2 separate regions of the Homo sapiens genome follow, and region 1 is linked to region 2. Evidence: promoter capture Hi-C in 16 types of primary human blood cells and fetal thymus (Javierre and others, 2016). All regions are on one chromosome and are shown on one strand. Each heading gives the region's core, a stretch centred on a gene start or on the middle of the fragment in contact. The rest is flanking DNA. Distances are from core to core; before and after follow the strand shown. Region 1 overlaps DPYSL5 (dihydropyrimidinase like 5). Region 2 holds the start of DNAJC5G (DnaJ heat shock protein family (Hsp40) member C5 gamma).

What was found. Contacts are between HindIII fragments. The CHiCAGO score rates a contact against its expected background, and 5 or more counts as called.
Region 1: a fragment that was not itself captured here is called in contact with the fragment with the promoter of DNAJC5G in region 2 in 1 of 17 cell types (naive B cells); the score reaches 5.3 in naive B cells.

Annotation. Positions count from the first base shown.
Region 1 is chr2:26,907,189-26,910,578 of GRCh38, forward strand. The region is part of intron 2 of DPYSL5 (dihydropyrimidinase like 5); the gene reads left to right. Among named protein-coding and RNA genes, the nearest start is that of DPYSL5, 61 kb to the left of the region's middle. The HindIII fragment of the contact is 164 bases long and covers 1,566-1,729 here.
Region 2 is chr2:27,274,023-27,277,770 of GRCh38, forward strand. DNAJC5G (DnaJ heat shock protein family (Hsp40) member C5 gamma) reads left to right here and starts at 1,411. Exons shown (of 7, transcript NM_173650.3): 1 at 1,411-1,531; 2 at 2,084-2,365; 3 at 2,704-2,819; 4 at 3,732-3,748. The coding sequence starts at 2,707. It also overlaps a transcript of SLC30A3 not described here. The HindIII fragment of the contact is 3,678 bases long and covers 430-3,748 here.

The DNA of each region.
Region 1 (3,390 bases), core at 398-2,897, 370 kb before region 2:
ACTGCAACCTCCGCCTCCTGGGTTCAAGCAATTCCCCTGTCTCAGCCTCCCAAGTAACTGGGAATACAGGCGCCCGCCACCATGCCCAGCTAATTTTGTATTTTTAGTAGAGACGGAGTTTCTCCATGTTGGTCAGGCTAGTCTCGAACTCCTGACCTCAAGTGATCCATAAGCCTCAGCCTCCCAAAGTGCTGGGATTACAGGCATGAGCTACTGCGCCCAGCCCACATTTACATTTTTAAAATAAAAAATCACCTTGGCCCCCCTTCATCTCACGGCTCTCTCTATGCCTGATGTCGTGTCCCTGCAATGGCTCCCTGTTGTCTAAGACATCAAGTTTGGATGTATGGATCTTCCCCCTGGGCAACCCCTGATCTGACCTTGCCCTCCCATCGACCCATCATGGCCAGCTGCTCCCCACACGCACCCATCCATCAGGAAGATGCCCTCCATGGACACCCCATGCTGCCTGTTGCCATCTCTCTCCACCCCTGCACAGAGCCCCTCCTTCAAGGCGAACAGCCTCTCGTGGCACTCCTCCTCCAGCTAACCCAGCTCCAGGATGTCACTTTCTTCTCGCCAGCTGAAATAACTTGTCATCCTAGGGCTTTCAAATTGTTTCCCATGTTAAGTTTGTTTCTCAACAAGATTGAAGACCCTTTGAGGAGCAGAGACCACGATTTAACTTGTGACTAGCCACAGAGCCCGCGTAGCCCTAACGGTGTAGTCGACATCCAAGAAATGGATGTCAGCATGGAGTGGGAGTTATCAGCACAGACTGGGGCTATGAATGCTGGAGTTCGGATTTCAGCTCCACATTTGCTTGCTATGTCATGTGGGCAAGTTAATCTCTCTGTTCCTCCATTGTCGTATGTCTTTAAAAGTGCTAATTGAGTTATTATTTGTAAAGAACTTAAAAGAATACTTGGTGCTTATTAAGCATTATGTGAATGTTTGTTAAATAAATAAATAGATCATGTTGATCAAAGTCAGATCCCTTAAAAATCCATTTGTACGAGCATACATATAAAACAGTTAAGCATCAAATAGGAACTGAAAGAACTGGATTTCATTCCTAGCGTTCGAATTTCTGTGTGTGTTTTAGATTTCAAACAGAGTCTGATAGTAATAGTGATAAATTCTAGATAATTTTCTGTCTTCTCTCTTTCTCTTAAAGGCAGAAATAGCCAGCAATAAACTCTGCAGGCATCAGGAGCTATTTAAAGGTGTCCTGCTTCAAACCAGCTACTTGCTTAACAAAACCTTGCTGGCAACTTTCATTCTACGTGTACATTAATTGGTAGGCCAAAATGTAGGCCAGGTTGATCCTTCTTAGAACTGATGTGAATGAGGAGATCTATCGTTTCTTATAAATTTGTATCTCTGGTATTGGGAAAAAACCTCCTATGGTGACCAAGCAGCTCCTCAACTTCTAGAATAGTGTTTGCAAAGAATTTATCAATGCAGATTATTGCATTTTTAAAACCTTTGATTCAGAATAAAATAAATACACCCTCTGTGATTGAGGCCAAGTGTCTTGGCAATCTTTCGTGCTTAGTACAAGAAGCTTTGCTTTATGCTGTCATCCACTGGAATTTATAAAAGGAAAAAAGGAAGAAGAAAAATATATACTGTATGTGCACTTCAATGATACATATTGCACATGAATGCCATTTTTCTGTCTTCTTCCATTTTTCTCCCTTCTTCCTCTTTTTCTTTTCTTAAATTAAGCTTGTATCTTTTTTAATATTTCAAGAAATATTTGAATATGGCCTTTTCTCAATTGGAAATATCTGTTCTCCCAAACCTCACAGAGGTTACCTTTGAAGTTGCCATATTTGTGTTGAAAATAAGGGACATATCTTGGTTCATTTACAGGTAGAAATTTGCGTAGGTGCCAGATCATCTCCCCTGGATAGTTTCAGCCTCATTGTTCCCTTGGGTGATTACTGCAGCCAGCCACATTTTTCTCTCCTTCTGATGCTTTTTTGTTTCTTGTTGACTAAAACTGAAGCCCTATAAGGATCTTTAATTAGTAACTAAACGAATATAAAACTGTGGGCCAACTACTGTAAGAACGTTCTCACTGACCATTGTTTCTCACTCATATTGCACACACATCACACACACCATCTCACATTCACACTCGCTCTCACACACACAATTTTAGAGCTGGAAGTACCATTAGAGATTAATAAATACTACCCCTAATTCATAAATAATTTTCCTGTTTAGACTTAAACGATCCACAGTATTCTCAATTAATATTTTAAAATAAAATTAAACAAGGCGGGGCTCAGTGGCTCGGTGGCTCACGCCTGTAATCCCAAAGCTTTGGGAGGCCAAGGCAAGAGGATCACTTGAGGCCAGGAGTTTAAGACCAGCCTAGGCAACATAGTGAAACCCCATCTCTACAAAAAATACAAAAATTAGCCAAGCATGATGGTGTGTACCTATAGACCTAGCTACTAGGGAGGCTGAGGCAGGAGGAGTTTGAGCTCACTTGAGCTCAGAAGTTTGAGGCTGCAGTGAGCTATGATCATGCCACTGCACTCCAGTGACAGAACAAGACCCTGTCTAAAAACAAAAAAAAAATTGGTAAATGTTAGTGAACTCCACTGTTGGGAAGAATATGTCTAGAAAGAGGAGAACATGATTAGGTAACCTGGGAAGCCACCTTTAAAAAAAAAAGGTATAATTAATGTTTGATAAGCTGCACATTTTAAAGTATACAGTTTGATACATTTTGACATATACATACATCAAGAAGCCATCACAATATAATAAACATATCCACCATTCCTGAAAGTTTCTTTGTGTTCCTGTAATTTTCCCCCAGCTCTCACCCCAGGTTACCACTATTTTATGTCACTATAGATTAGTTTGCATTTTCTACTATTTCTATATAAATGGAGCAATGCGATATGCATTCCTTTTTTTGTCTGGTTTCTTTCGCTCAGTAGTATTAAGTTTTTGGCTGTTAAAGATAAAGCTACTGTGAACATTCATATACATATATTTGTGTGGACATAGGCTTTTATTTCCCTTGGGTAATTACCCGGAAGTGGAATGTGTCTGTTTTATGGTAGGTCTACATTTAGCTTTTTAAGAAATTGCCACCTGGTTTCCAAAGTGGTTGTAACAATTTTTTTTTCCCCATCAGTAGTGACTCCATATCATTCCCACCACTTGTTGTGGTCAGTCTTTTTAATTTTAGCCGTTCTAATAGGTGTGTAGTGGTATCTCAGTGTGGTTACAATGTGCATTTCCTTAGTGACTAGTGTTGAATGTCTTTACATGTGCCTATATGCCTTCTATATGTTTTCAGTGAAGTGTCTGCTCACACCTTTTACCCATGTTTTAGTAAGTTGTTGGCTTTTAAAAATCTGA
Region 2 (3,748 bases), core at 161-2,660:
TGGCTCACGCCTTCAAGGGGGCTGGCGCAATGGCTCACGCCTGTAATCCCAGCACTTTTGGAGGCTGAGGCGGGTAGATCACTGAGGTCAGGAGTTCGAAACCAGCCTGGCCAACATGGTGAAACCCCGTCTCTACTAAAAATACAAAAAAAATTAGCCAGGCGTGGTGGCAGGCACCTGTAATCCCAGCTACTTGGAAGGCTGAAGCAGGAGAATCACTTGAACCCGGAAGGCAGAGGTTCCAGTGAGCAGACATTGTGCCACTGCACTCCAGCCTGTGTGACAGAGTGAGACTCCACCTCAAAACACAACAAAACAAACAAAAAAAACCTACAAGGTGAGGAAAATGTGCACAAATAACTGTAATAAAAGGAAGAGAGTGATAAAAGCTACAAAAAGGTTAACAGATAAGCATTTTCCAAGTAACAAAGCTTTTTCTACTACATGTTACAGGAGCCATTGAGTGCTCTTGCAAAGAAAACCAGCACTACAAAGTAGTAAATTATAAGTGATGCAAACACTACCTCCTGTAGAAACTCACAGGAAGGGAAGCCAGGTAGAGGCATGCTCCCATGCCAGCAGGTGGGGATACAAATCCTCCTTCTGCTACCTTTCCAGAAGAAAGTTAGCAATAGAGATCAAGAGCGTAAAAAAAAAAGAAAAGAAAAAAGAAAAAAAAAATCATTTCGACCCAATAATTCCACTTCTAAGAATGTATCCTTAGGAAAAAAAATTAGACATTTGTTCAAGGATTTCTGTTGAATTTTCCTTATAAGGTTATTATATTATCAAATAGAAACAACTGAAACAGCCAAGTTGGGTTACATTATGGGACATGCTCATGATGGCATCATATTTAAGTGACGTTTTTGAAGCACGGTAGTGACTTTTGGAAAAGGCTCAATACATCATTTTAATGAGACGTGCAAACTCATCATTACGATATACTAGGAGAAATGCTTTGACAGACGAAGTGGGAACAACTGGGAGAGTGAATGATGGAGTGTCAGGAACAGGGGCATATGAGTTGGGTCTTCCAGGTTGTGGAGGTGTTTCCGGGTGGAAGAGAAGGAGGGACCAAGCGGAGAGCCCTAAGTCCTGAAGACAACTGGGAAGGTAACACACCTCTTAAGAAGGGCATGCAGCAGCCATACCTCTCATCCGCCACGGTCAGCAAACCCATTGTGTTTCCTGGAGTGAGTTGGGCCATCAAGATGGGTGGTGCCCTCCTGCTGGGGAAGAGGGGCTCGGTGGGAATCCCTGCCCCAAGGCCTGGCAGCAACGCTCCTACGCTGCCTTGGGCCGCAGGCCTGCTAAGCCCTCCGCTCTCGCTTCCCTGCGCGCGAAATAAGTCCCAGGGCCAATGTGGCCTCCCCACCCAGTGCTTCCGGGGGCGCCAAAAAACGACCTGCCCAGACCCTCAGCGTCGACGCTGCGCACAAGCGCAGTCAACTGCTGGACCCGGCCGGTGTGAAGTTTCACACCCAAAAGGATGAAGGGCACCCACCTGGCTTAAGAGAACGACTCCCAGGTAAAGGGCCAGACCCAGGTGAGGAGTCGGCACAGGGCCAGAGGTGCCCTGCACACTCAGAGCTCTCCCTTTGAGCTCCTTGCCTTGCTCGGTTCTCCTGGGCCGCAGGCGTCTACCCTGCTCTCTGGGGTTCCGCTGCCTTTTCCTTGCCAGGTCTTTCCCACAGCAACGCCTTTTCTCTTCCTTCTCCAGCCTCTGAGTCCTCTTCCTCCTCTCCCCACTGTCCCACCTCTGAGGGACAGAAGTGGGGTGGTTTGAGAGCAGGAGACTGGAGGGAAGAAGCAAGTCCAGGCCTAGCTGCAAGCACTCCCCACCCCCGCCCCCGCCCCCGCCCCCGCCCCCGCCAGGCTCTAGGACACTTGACTTCTGTTAGGCCTCACACGGTTTGGTCTGAAGTGTTTCTCTCTTAATAGCTGTGGATCGGCGAGGCTCAATGGCTCACGCCTGTAATCTCAGGACTTTGGGAGGCCGAGGTGGGTGGATCACCTGAGGTCAGGAGTTCAAGAACAGCCTGACCAACATGGTGAAACTCTGTCTCTACTAAAAACACAGAAAATTAGCCGGGCGTGGTGGCGTGCACCTGTAATCTCAGCTACTCGGGAGGCTGAGGCAGGAAAATCGCTTGCACCCAGGAGGTGGAGGTTGCAGTGAGCCGAGATCGCGCCATTACACTTCAGCCTGGGCAACAAGAGCAAAAAACTCCGTCAAAAAAAAAAAAAAGAAGAAGAAGTTGTGGAGCTGTCTGATTCCTGATCCTGTCCGTTCAGGCTGGGGCCGCCCTGGTCTTTCAAACCCAGCAGTGAGCTTGGACAGACCCAGAGGTGTTTACTCCAGGTAATAGGAGCTCTAGACAAAATCAGGCTCTTTTCCTGGCTTAGACCTCTCCCTGCTTACAACACCTCTAGGATGTGGGATATCTAGAGGTCTGTGTAGCTGGAGGATGCTGGGAAATGTGAGGAGAAGATGTTTCCTCCTTAAAATTGGAATCTTTCTGATCACCTGAATTCTCCTGCTAGCCACAAATCCCACTCACTCTTATCTTATCCTTGTCCTTCTGTCATCGTTTACCTGCCTAATCCCTGAAGGTAGTGAGTTTCCTGTCACTGGAAGTGCACTTCTCGGTACCCTTACTTGTAGAAGTTCTCACAGATGCTGCTTCTCCTCTGGCTCAGATCATGTCTACTGTGAAGGAAGCAGCACACCGGCTGTCCAAAAGTGAGATGAGCCTCTATGCAGTGCTGGATCTTAAGAAGGGCGCCTCACCTGAAGACTTCAAAAAATCCTACAGGTTCAGACCTCAGCCCTTTATTGATCCTTGGAATTTCCCCCTTAAACCTTTTTCTTTCTGTATCTCTTTTGCTATCTGACTCTTTTTTTTTTTTTTTTTTTTTGAGAGGAAGTCTCGTCCTGTCACAGAGCAGAGACAGAGACTATTGAGAGTGCAGTGGCACGATCTTGGCTTACTGCAACCTCTGCCTCCCAGGTTCAAGCAATTCTCTCACCTCAGCCTCCTGAGAAGCTGGGACTACAGGCGTGCACCACCACGCCTGGCTAATTTTTGTATTTTTAGTAGAGACAGGGTTTCGCCATGTTGGCCAGGCTGGTCTCAAACTCCTGACCTCAGGTGATCTACCTGCCTCGGCCTCCCAAAGTGCTGGGATTACAGGTGTGAACCACTGTGCCTGGCCTACGACCCGTTTGTTTGTTTGTTTGTTTGTTTGTTTGTTTTGAGACAGTCTCGCTCTGTTGCCCAAGCTGTAGTGCAGTGGTGCAGTCTCGGCTCACTGCAACCTCCACCTTCCGGGTTGAAGTGATTCTCCTGCCTCAGCCTCCCGAGTAGCTGGGATTACAGGTGCCTGCCACTATGCCCAGCTAATCTTTTGTATTTTTGGTAGAGACAGGGTTTCACCATGTTGGCCAAGCTGGTCTCAAACTCCTGACCTCATGATCCGCCCACCTTGGCCTCCCAAAGCGCTGGGATTACAGGTGTGAGCCAGTGCTCCCAGCCCTATGACCCATTTTTAAGTTCCAACAAGCCCTCACTTTGGGGCCAAATGGCACCATCACCCTCTTCATTATAGTATGGGAAGGAGTTTAGACCTTGGATGCTTGCCTCCATCCTTTGTACCACATCTCATGCATTCCTTCTGCACTCTCTAGAGACTAATCCATGTCATTCATCGTAAGTCTCCTTCCCCAGCCATTCCGCATTGCTTC